Regions from separate parts of the Homo sapiens genome. Here all the other regions are linked to region 3. The links are contacts of gene promoters, found by promoter capture Hi-C in human tissues and cell types (Jung and others, 2019). All regions are on one chromosome and are shown on one strand. Each heading gives the region's core, a stretch centred on a gene start or on the middle of the fragment in contact. The rest is flanking DNA. Distances are from core to core; before and after follow the strand shown. Region 1 has its middle 180 kb from the start of MIR744. Region 2 has its middle 160 kb from the start of MIR744. Region 3 holds the start of ARHGAP44 (Rho GTPase activating protein 44). Region 4 has its middle 110 kb from the start of MIR744.

What was found. The method cuts DNA at HindIII sites, captures the fragments that hold promoters and counts their contacts. A contact is called where the count stands out against the background at its distance.
Region 1: a contact is called between a fragment that was not itself captured here and the fragment with the promoter of ARHGAP44 in region 3, in 2 of the 25 tissues and cell types used here (lymphoblastoid cells and mesendoderm cells).
Region 2: a contact is called between a fragment that was not itself captured here and the fragment with the promoter of ARHGAP44 in region 3, in 2 of the 25 tissues and cell types used here (bladder and mesenchymal stem cells).
Region 4: a fragment that was not itself captured here is called in contact with the fragment with the promoter of ARHGAP44 in region 3 in 4 of the 25 tissues and cell types used here (H1 embryonic stem cells, dorsolateral prefrontal cortex, mesendoderm cells and 1 more).

The regions. Positions count from the first base shown.
Region 1 is chr17:12,260,175-12,262,874 of GRCh38, forward strand. No RefSeq gene overlaps it. Among named protein-coding and RNA genes, the nearest start is that of MIR744, 180 kb to the left of the region's middle. The HindIII fragment of the contact is 8,212 bases long and covers 1-2,700 here.
Region 2 is chr17:12,243,496-12,246,195 of GRCh38, forward strand. No RefSeq gene overlaps it. Among named protein-coding and RNA genes, the nearest start is that of MIR744, 160 kb to the left of the region's middle. The HindIII fragment of the contact is 3,829 bases long and covers 1-2,700 here.
Region 3 is chr17:12,788,238-12,790,937 of GRCh38, forward strand. It overlaps ARHGAP44 (Rho GTPase activating protein 44), which reads left to right and starts at 1,261. Exons shown (of 21, transcript NM_014859.6): 1 at 1,261-1,654. The coding sequence starts at 1,602. ARHGAP44-AS1 (ARHGAP44 and MYOCD antisense RNA 1) reads right to left here and starts at 2,047. Exons shown (of 2, transcript NR_104607.1): 1 at 1,906-2,047. RefSeq lists a silencer at 1,188-1,537. The HindIII fragment of the contact is 5,339 bases long and covers 1-2,700 here.
Region 4 is chr17:12,190,616-12,193,315 of GRCh38, forward strand. No RefSeq gene overlaps it. Among named protein-coding and RNA genes, the nearest start is that of MIR744, 110 kb to the left of the region's middle. The HindIII fragment of the contact is 4,684 bases long and covers 1-2,700 here.

The sequences.
Region 1 (2,700 bases), core at 76-2,575, 530 kb before region 3:
TTCTCTCTTAAGCCAAACTGAAGTGTGACTCCTTTAAGAGATGTGAGGGCCCACGGGTGCCTCGGGGAACTGAGTGACATCTAGTTCAGAGAGGAAAGCCCAGACTCCTGCCATGAAAGATTTTGCACACACTCTTTCTCTCTCTCTCTCTTTTTTTGTTCCTTTTTTTTGAGACGGAGTTTTGCTCTTGTTGCCCAGGCTGGAGTGCAATGGCATGATCTCGGCTAACTGCAACCTCTGCCTCCTGGGTTCAAGCGATTCTCCTGCCTCAGCCTCCTGAGTAGCTAGGATTATAGGCGCATGCCACCATGCCCAGCTAATTTTTGTATTTTTAGTAGAGATGGGGTTCCACCATGTTGGCCAGGCTGGTCTCAAACTCCTGACCTCAGGAGATCCGCCTGCCTTGGCCTCCCAAAGTGCTGGGATTACAGGCCTGAGCCACTGTGCCTGGCTGCACACTCTCTTTGGTGCATCTTTCCATTCTTTTCTTCCATCAGTTCTTCATGCAGACTGTTGGCACCAGCTACACAGACTTCCAGGCGTCCCCAAGCAAGCTTCACCCTCTCCTGCAATTCCTCTTCCTGGAATGTGTGGCTCCATAACACCCCCACCTGCTGGACTTCTACTTGACTTTGGAGGTCCAGTCAAGCTACCCAAATATGTATTCATCTGTGATGTCTTTTCTGCTGTTCCTGATCTCAAATTATTTTTATTTCTGAACCCAACACAAAAAAATTAAAATTGTGTTGAAATACAAATAACATAAAATGTATCATCTCAAAAGGGTCCAGTTCAGTGGTATTAAGTACATTCATAATGTACCTAATGGTGGTCTGCAGCCATCAGCACCATCCATCTCCAGAGCTTTTTTATCTTCCCAAACTGAAACTCTGTGCCCAGGAAACACTAAGTCTGCATTTGCCCTATTCTCGGTCCCTGGCAACCACCTTTCTAGTTTCTGTCTAATAATTTGACCACTCTAAATACATCCTATAAGTGGAATCATACAGTATTTTTTGTTTTGTGACTGATTTAATTTAGCATAAGGTCCTCAAAGCCGACACATATTGTAACGTGTCAGAATTTTCTTCCTTTTTCATATATATCACATATATGCCTAGCTACGCAGACTTCCATGGCTCACCATATACATGTGGCAGAATATTATATATATATATCTCATATATATCCTATTCAGATATGTGTGATATGTATGTCATGTCACATATATCTCTACCATATATATCACACATGATATCTCATATCACACATATCTGTATCATATATCTCACACATGATATCTCTATTGTATCTCACACATGATCTCATATATCTCACACGTGATATCTCATATCACACATGTGATATCTCTATCATATCTCACACGTGTGATATCTCATCACACGTGATATCTGTCATATATCTCACACGTGTGATATCTATCATATCACACGTGTGATATCTCATAGCTCACGTGTGATATCTATCATATGTCTCACACGTGTGATATCTATCATATGTCTCACACGTGTGATATCTATCATATCTCACACGTGTGATATATATCTCACGTGTGATATCTCATATATCACATGTGTGATGTGTATATCTCACGTGTGATATCTCTATCATATATCTCACACGTGTGATATCTCATATATCTCACGTGTGATATCTCTATCATATCTCACATGTGTGATCTCTATCATATATATCACACGTGTGATATCTCTATCATATATCACACATCTCTATCATATATATCACACATATATCTCTCATATATCACACATGTCTATCATATATCACACATGATATCTCTATCATATCACAGATATCGCTATCATATATATCTCACATGATAGCTCTATCATATATCACACATATCTCTATCATATATATCATACATATCTATCATATATCACACATATATATCACACATGATATCTCTATCATATATCACACATATATATATCTCACATGATAGCTCTATCATATATATCACACATATCTCTATCATATATATCACACATATCTATCATATATCACACATGATATCTATCATATATATCACACATATCTATCATATCACACATATATCTCTAGCATATATATCACACATGATATCTAGCATATATCACACATGATATCTCTAGCATATATATCACACATGATATTTCTAGCATATATATCACACATGATATCTAGCATATATATCACACATATATCTATCATCACACATATCTCTATCATATATCACACATCTCTATCATATATATCACACATATCTGTATCATATATATCACACATGATATCTCTATCATATATATCACACCTGATATCTCTATCATAGATATCACACATATATCTCTATCATATATATCACACATATCTCATATATAGCACACATATCTATCGTATATATCACACATGTGATATCTCTATCGTATATATCACACGTGATATCTTGTATATATTACACATGTGATATCTCTATAGTACGTATCATGTATATATCACTATATATATTGACGATGGTTAAATTATATTTATCACATATATAAATGGTGGAATTATATATATATCACATATATATAATGGTGGTGGAGTTACATATATTACATTTACATATAAACGGTGGTGGAATTTAACTCCTGTGATGAAATAGGCTAAGCGCAAATGCCATCGATTCTGAGAAAA
Region 2 (2,700 bases), core at 12-2,511, 540 kb before region 3:
GATGAAGCAGCTGCCTCTCGTGACAGACATTCAGTGTAGCTCAAAGGAGCTGTGCCAACCAGGTGGGTTTAAATCCCTTCCTCCTTCCATGCAAGCAGTGATGGACACCTGACAAGAGGCCACCCTACCTTTGGTGGCTTCCAGAAGAAATGGAGTGAGGGTGGGGCAGGGTAGATAAGGAACATAGGAAAAATGCAGAGAAATGAGATGTTTGTAAAATTTGATGTTTATATTTTCCATCTCCAGGTATTTTTTTTTCCTGATTTCAGACTTTTTTCTGTTTCTCCTCTAGTTTTATAGATGCAATTTGCTCTTCACTCTCATTGAGATTCTACTCAGAGGCAGTTAGTTTACTTACCTTGGGAACAGAAAACAGTTCTTGTTTTTACAGTTTTTTTGAGCAAATTACAATGATAACAATGGTAATTTCTGGGAAGATTACAACTATGCAATTTTCAAATTATGAAACTTCCACTGGTCGGAGGCCTTACTGAGCAGCTTATTCAGCTAATATTTATACAGAAAAAAAGAAAAATCAGCAAGGCTCTAGCTTTAAAAGTTCTATCATCTCTTATCTGTAGTCTTTTTTTTGTACTTTTTATAAATATAGAAGTTCAAATCTGCACAAAGATGTATGTTTTCACGCTGACATCTTTGACATTCTTTGATCTTTTCATGCCTCCATGTATATATTATTTGAACATGTGTAAAACCTTGCAAATTAGAGGGAAACCAGATTATTATCCTGTATTCAAAATTCTGTCATATCTGCAATTTTAATTTGAAATTGCAACTGTGAGAGAGACTTCAGGGAAAAGTATTAAGATAGCTTCTAAAATATTTGCTTAATATTAATTTTAGAATTTTTAGAAAACACAAGAAAGAAAAATTAAGAAATCAAAAGTCATGATTGTATCATTTAGACTTTAACACTTTGGTGTACACAGTTCCAGTCTCTCTTTTTTATATGTATAGATATGTTAAAATAAAATGGAATTTTAAAAAATATAACTTTAAAAGTCCCTTTTACATATTTTAAACGTTTTCTTTTATTATTTTTTCTATTACATTATCTTAATGGGTATATATCATCCCACCATATAGCTATACCATAATCTATTTAATGAATCTCCTATTGTTGGAAATTTAGATTATTTTCAATAATTCACCATTACTGGCAGTACTATAATGTTAACCATTGTAGCTATATCTTTGTGCACAGTCATGATTATTTCCTTATGATAAATTCCTGGAAGTAGAGTTGCCAGATCAAAATGTATGCAAAAATTCTAAGACACAAAAAGATTGCCTAAAAGTTGTATAAATTTATCTTCCCACCACCTATTTGTCAGAAGGCTCATTTCCCTCTATACTTGGCAATAACTGATAAATTATTATTTTTTACTAATTTATAAATAATAAATACTACACCATTGTCTTATTAAGCACTTACTTGATAACTAGTGATGATACATTTTGTATGTTTACTGTTAATTTAACTTTCATGGTTTTAAATTAGCTTTTCATGTTTTTAAGTTTTTTTGCCTTTGTAAATAGTCAACTTAATTGACTCATCTTATTAGTTGAATAATGTCTTAGTTCTTGCTTTTAGATGTTTTTGAGCAAATTACAATTATAACAATGGTAATTTCTGGGAAGATTACAACTATGAAATTTTCAAATTATGATAATTCATTCCTTTGTTTTCATGTTTATACTTTTCTTTTTCTTAGTACATTGGCTGAAACTTCTGTGTGTGCTTTGCTTCAAATCCTTGGAGAATGTCTTGAGCTCGTGTTAATTCCCTGATTAATTGTCTTCAGTACATAATATGCTGCTCATTACCTCCACTGTGTTTTAAAATTTGATGTTTGTATTTTCCATCTCCAGGTATTTTTTTCCTGATTTCAGACTTTTTCCTGATTTCAGACTTTTTTCTGTTTCTCCTCTAGTTTTATAGATGCAATTTGCCCTTCACTTTCACTGAGATTCCACTCAGAGGCAGTTGGAAACAGAAGTTTTGATGAGACTGGAAATGCCAAGACATTTTCCTAAAAGTTTTCTCTTATTTCATGGACTAATACATGTTTTTAACTTATTAGTTCTCTTCTTTTGAATTGATATTTTCATTTTATTTAGTGATTTTTCTTTGTTTATTCTTTTTTTTTTTCTCTTTTGAGACAGAGTCTTGCTCTGTCACCAGGCTGGAGTGCAGTGGTGCCTTCTCGACTCACTGCAGCTTCCGCCTTCCTGGTTCAAGTGATTCTCTTGCCTCAGCCTCCTGAGTAGCTGGGATTACAGGCACATGCCACCACACCCAGCTAATTTTTGTATTTTTAGTAGAAACGGGGTTTCGCTATGTTGGCCAGGCTGGTTTTGAACTCCTGACCTCAAGTGATAGACCTGTCTCGGCCTCCCAGAGTGCTGGAATTACAGGCGTGAGCCACTGTACCCGGCCCGTTCATTCTTACAGTAGCAATGTTATGTTTGTCCAAAATGAAGAGTAGAGATGGCGTTTATCAAATACAGAGTGGATGTTTATTCAAACTCTTTAGTCCTGAAGTTGAGAGCCAGCTTGACTGTGTCCCCATTTTCATTAGTGTGCGCTTGGTGTTAACTGTGAGTTGTAGAGTCTGCATGTTTCTAACTCTTGCTAGTTTTATCAGAGAAGCTGATTAATACTGATCCTTCATTGACTGC
Region 3 (2,700 bases), core at 11-2,510:
ATCAGGCAGCATATTTTTCTATTTAGGGATGAGGAAACAGAGGTTTGGAGAGGTTAAGCTGTTTTCCTAAGGTTATATAACAGGTATGTGGAATTCTGATGCAGGAACTCCTATCTGTTTAATCCAAAGTGCCTCACACCCAACAATACTGCTTTTACTTGATATATAATGATAAAACCTTGATATATAATGATAAAACCTAACTGCAATCACCAATCTTTTTCTTTTTTTTCTTTTCTTTTTTTTTTGTTTTTTGAGATGGAGTCTAGCTCTGTCACCCAGGCTGGCGTGCAATGGCGCGATCTCCACTCACTGCAACCTCCACCTCCCAGGTTCAAGCTATTCTCCTGCCTCAGCCTCCCAAGTAGCTGGGATTACAGGTGCCCGCCACCACGCCCAGCTAATTTTTGTATTTTTAGCAGAGACAGGGTTTCACTGTGTTGGCCAGGCTGGTGTCGAACTCCTGACCTCGTGATCCACCCTCCTTGGCCTCCCAAACTGTTGGGATTACAAGCGTGAGCCACCGCGCCCGGCTCACCTATCTTTTTCTAAGGATAGAGACCAAAGAAGCCACAACCCCTTCCAAGGAGTCAACTGACGCCAATGGGATGCTGTGGTGCAGGACACTTGGGGGGTGCTGCAGCTGATGCCCCTTGGTCTCCTGGTGGTGGAAGGGAAATGGGACTAGATACGAGATTGGCATCTAAGCCATACAAAAAAGCTGTCTCAGACAGGTTGGGCCAGTAAGCACAACGTCACTTATCTATATTGGCTTCTGGTTACCTAATGGGTTTGGTTTGGTAAAAATTAAGAATCAGACTTCTGGGATGCAAGCTATGCCTGTTCAAAATCTGCTGTCAGCCCCTGTGTTTCAAGCTTAACCTTGAACCTCATCATTAATCAGGTGACCTTAGACCGTTTTATCAGCCACGTATCTGCTAGCATAAATCTCCCTTCTGTGAATTCAGAACACTGATACCTCACATTCACTAAAAATACAATGAGAGACAGATGCTCACTTTCTTTATTTGCTGTTGTATTCTTGGTCCCACTTTGCCATTTTTAAAACAGGAAAACGTTTCCCTTACTCGAACGCTAAAGTGCAAAGCTGCTGGTGACGCTGCCTTCTCCCACCTCCGCACTCCACTGTCCTTGCAAACTTTGGACAGAGGAAAGGTGGGCACGGGGCGCGAAACTACAAGTCCCGGCATGCACGGCGTTCTCCGCACAGGCGCACGGGGACCGCCGGGCCAGCCGGCCAGCCAGCCTGCGGAGACTCCCGGGTCCCCGCGCCGGACTGGGACTGGGAGCAGGCAGCCCGGGCGGAGCGGGCCGGTGCCGAGGACGGCCCCAGGCATTGCTCTGCCCCGGGCATTGCGCGGCGCGCGTGAGGGGGATGCGGCAGGAGGCGGCGCGGCGGGAGGAGTAGGCGGCGGCGCCCTCGGGAGGGAGCTGCGCGCGGGCCAGACGGCGCCCGGAGGCTCCGCAGTGCCGCCGCCGTCGCCCGGGAGGCTCCGCGCGGGAGCCATGTAACCCTGCGGCGGGCTCCGGGCTGCTCCGTCCTTCCCCAGCTCCCGGGCTAGCGCGGCAGCGGGGCCACGATGAAGAAGCAGTTCAATCGCATGCGCCAGCTGGCCAACCAGACGGTGGGCAGGTAGGTCACCCGCGGGCACCGCTGTCGGTGCGCGCCCGCGAGGCTGCATCCGCAGGGGCGCGCAGGTGATGGAGCCCGCCCAGCCTCCAGTCCTCCTTGCCTCAGTCCTTTCCCCTGCACCAGCTCCCTCCAGGCGCCGCTCGCAGGCGCGACCCCTCCTCCCTAACTTCCCAGACCCCGGAGCTCTTCTCACTCGCCGCCTTCTGCTCCGGGCTCCGGTTGCCAAGCGCAAAGTGTGACGCATCCTTTACCTGCGTCCCCGGCTGCCCCTTCGCTTCGTCCTCCCTGCCTTTCCCCGGGACTCCCTTCTCCCTCTGGCCGCCTGTCTTCCTGGAAACAGGTGTTTGCTCTGATTGTGCTGGAGGCAGCCGAACCGCAGTCGGTCTCCGGAGATCTCTTCCCTCCCCTCCCCTGCGCCGAGTTCAGGGCTGCTCCCGGGTCCAGGGAAAGTGCTGGGCCTGGTCGGCCTGCCCCTCCCGCCGTGTTTGTTTTCAGGGACTATGACTGTACGAGATTCTGGATCACTTTCCTGGCCGGGTTTCTTAAGGCGTTTGGTGGGGGGAAAGGGTGAGGGGTGGGAGAGGAAGGAAGGTGCTGGTGGAATGGCGTTGCTGCCTGCTTGATGTTAGGACTGATTTCAGTGGAGGGAGGGAGGCTGCAAAAAGGAGGCCCAAGTCCTCGGGAAGATGAGATAAGCAGAGAATCGCAGCCAGGTAGGGGAGGGGGACAGAGGCCCCACAGTCAGAAGAGTCAGGCCCCGGGAAGCTGCAAGACCCCGCCTGCTGCCATCACGGTGAAAATGGGCTACATCTGGACTCCAGGAGCGGCTCTGCAGGGTGCCAACATCTATTAAGGTTACATAAAAATCCTGGTGGGTCGCTCCCAAGACTAGACATTCTTTGAACACAGGAGCGTTAGGTAGAAGGGATTTTTCCTGGAACCCCTACTCCTGGGGAGGGATTTCCGTTGCTGCTGTGGCAAAGGAATTCAGGTGTGCTGTTCTAAAGCAATCAGAAAGCAAAGAATCCAGCCTTGGGTGCAGTTCA
Region 4 (2,700 bases), core at 180-2,679, 600 kb before region 3:
TTGTTTTATAAATTTCACCCATTATGGTTGTTTCGTTGGGAGGAGGTCCTGTGGAGTTTCTCAGATTGCCATTTCAGAGTGGTTCTTGAGTGCTGTTATGTTTATGTGCTGATCTTGTGTCAGGAAATCTTGCTGCATCATCTCATTCATTCATTCATTCATTCATTCATTTTCTCATTAATTCAACAAACATTCATTAGTTTGATTGTTTTGAGATTTCTAAGTAAATGAATTCAAAGAATTGCAACTTTTACAATCATTCTGGGCCAGTCACGGTGGCTCATGCCTGTAATCCCAGCACTTTGGGAGGCCGAGGTGGGCAGATCACTTGAGGCCAGGAGTTCAAGACCAGCCTGGCCAACATGGCGAAACCCCATCTTTACTAAAAATATAAAAAATACCTAGGTATGGTGGTACAAGCCTATAATCCCAGCTGCTTGGGAGGCTGAGGCCCAAGAATCCCTTGAACCCAGGAGGCAGAGGTTGTAGTGAAGCAGAGATCATGCCACTGCACTCCAGCCTGAGCGACAGAGAGAGACCCTGTCTCAAAAAAATAAAAATAAATAAATAAAAAATAATTCTGTCTTCTGGAAGCTGAGATTTTTAAACAATTTAAAAAAATTATGTCTTTAAATAATTGCAAGTTTTCTCACTTTTTTCTATCTTTTACTTTTTCTTTTTTTTTTATTTTAATGAATTAGACAAGACCTTTCAAAGCTTGGCAAAAGTAGTGATTACAACAAGTATATCTGCTTTCTTTTCTATCTTCTAACATGTCCATTATGTGTGTTTGCTATAGGGTTTTTGTAGGTAGGCTTTATCAATTTAGGAACCTCTTTTATATTCCTGTTTTATAAGAGTTTTAAATGAGAATGTATTGACTTATAAAAATGCTTTCCATTGTCTACTAAGAAAATCTTCTGAGTTTTCTTTGTTACTTTATCTTTGTGAATAAGATTTATAGATGTTCTAATGTTGAATCATCCCCTAATATCTGAGGTAAAGTCTGATTATGATGGCTTATTTTAAAATATATGTTGGATTTTAGTAGTAGTCAATATTTTATTTAGGACTCTCATTTATATTCATAAGTAAAATTGGCCTATAATCCTCTTTCTTTGATTTTCCCCTGTATGGTTTTACTATCAAAGTTATACTTTTTTTCATACGAGTGAGACAGCTTTCCTTCTTTTTCTGTTTTCTTTGTGTGTGTGTGTGTGTGTATGTGTGTGTGTGTGGCACAACTTGTTTGACATAAAGATTAGTTTTTATTTGAAAGTTTGGTTGCAAACCTGTAAAACCTAGACCTGGCTTTGTGTGGATATGAGGTTTAGAGAGAAGTCTTTTTATTACTTCCTAAATTTCTTAAGCATTACTGGTATAAATACATTTTCTATTCATTTGTATTAATTTTTTTTGCATTTTGTACTTTTAAAATTGTTCATTCATTGCTTCTGGGTTTTGACATTTGTTGGTGTTTACTTGTTCATAATATTCCTTTAAATTATTAAAACATCCTTTGTGTCTATAGTTATTTCTCCATTTATATTCTCTATTGTGTTTATTTACACCTTCTTTTTTGTCCCTTGATCATTCTTTCCAAGTTTTATCTTTATGAGCCTTTTCTATAAACCAACTTCTTGTTTTGTTAGTTGTTTATAATTTTCTTTGTCCTGTGCTTTGTTGACCTTTACCTTTATTATTCCTGTTCTCCTTGTTTTTTTAAGGTGTTGAAGAATAGTCTGTCATTAACACACAGCCAATGAGGTCATCAGACTCTTTCATACATGGACAGGTTTTGAGATGTGCCCCTTGTGGAAGAAAACCACAGATGTTTTAGAGCACTGAATTGTAAGCATGCTTAGAGATGATTTATTCCATTAAGGGCAAATATTTAATGTGCTCAATTTGAATGCATGGTTCACGTTCATTTCCCCCCGCACTGAGGTCAGATGCATCCTGGTATTCCCAATACTGTTAGAGACGGCACTGCAGGTGAGGATTCTTTGCCATCCATAGTTCCCCCTACTTAAAGTGTGGCCCACGTTGCAATCACCTGGGAGTTTTTTTTAGAGATGCAGAATATTGGGCCCTAGGCCAGGCCTACTAAATCAGAATCTATATTTTAACATCTTCAGATGAATCATTAGGCATTGAAGTTTGAGAAACACTTGGTCTAACACCATTATTTTGCAGGTGAGAAAACTAAGAGCCTCAGAGGTAAGGTAATCTACCCAAGACTATGTAGAAGAAGGAGGTTTTCATAGCAAAATTAAGCAGGGGAAGAGAGGGAAAGAAAGAGAATGAGAGAAAGGGAGAGTAAGAAAGCCAAGAGACAGATGAATGCAATGGAAAATGAGAAACATGAGTGAGGAGAAGGCAGATGGGGAGTCAGTCTTCCCCCAGGATACAGTTCATCTGAGGCCAACTTCTGGGCATGCTGAGTAGCCAGAAGTTTTATTCACCATAATAGAAGCTTTTCTCAGTGTCCTTGGTATCAGGCTTGAATGACTGTCGGCAAACACACTCACATTTCAATAAAACTCAAGTTCTTTTTCTGGCAGTGGAAGTAGCAGTAAAAAAGGCTAGGAAATGAAAACATCTGTCACATGGCTTTTGAGGTGCCAGGTGTCACAGCCCTAGGGCCAACTGTCCTTTTGCAACATGGCTTCCTTGGACCTCCTACCTGTCTTGTAGGCC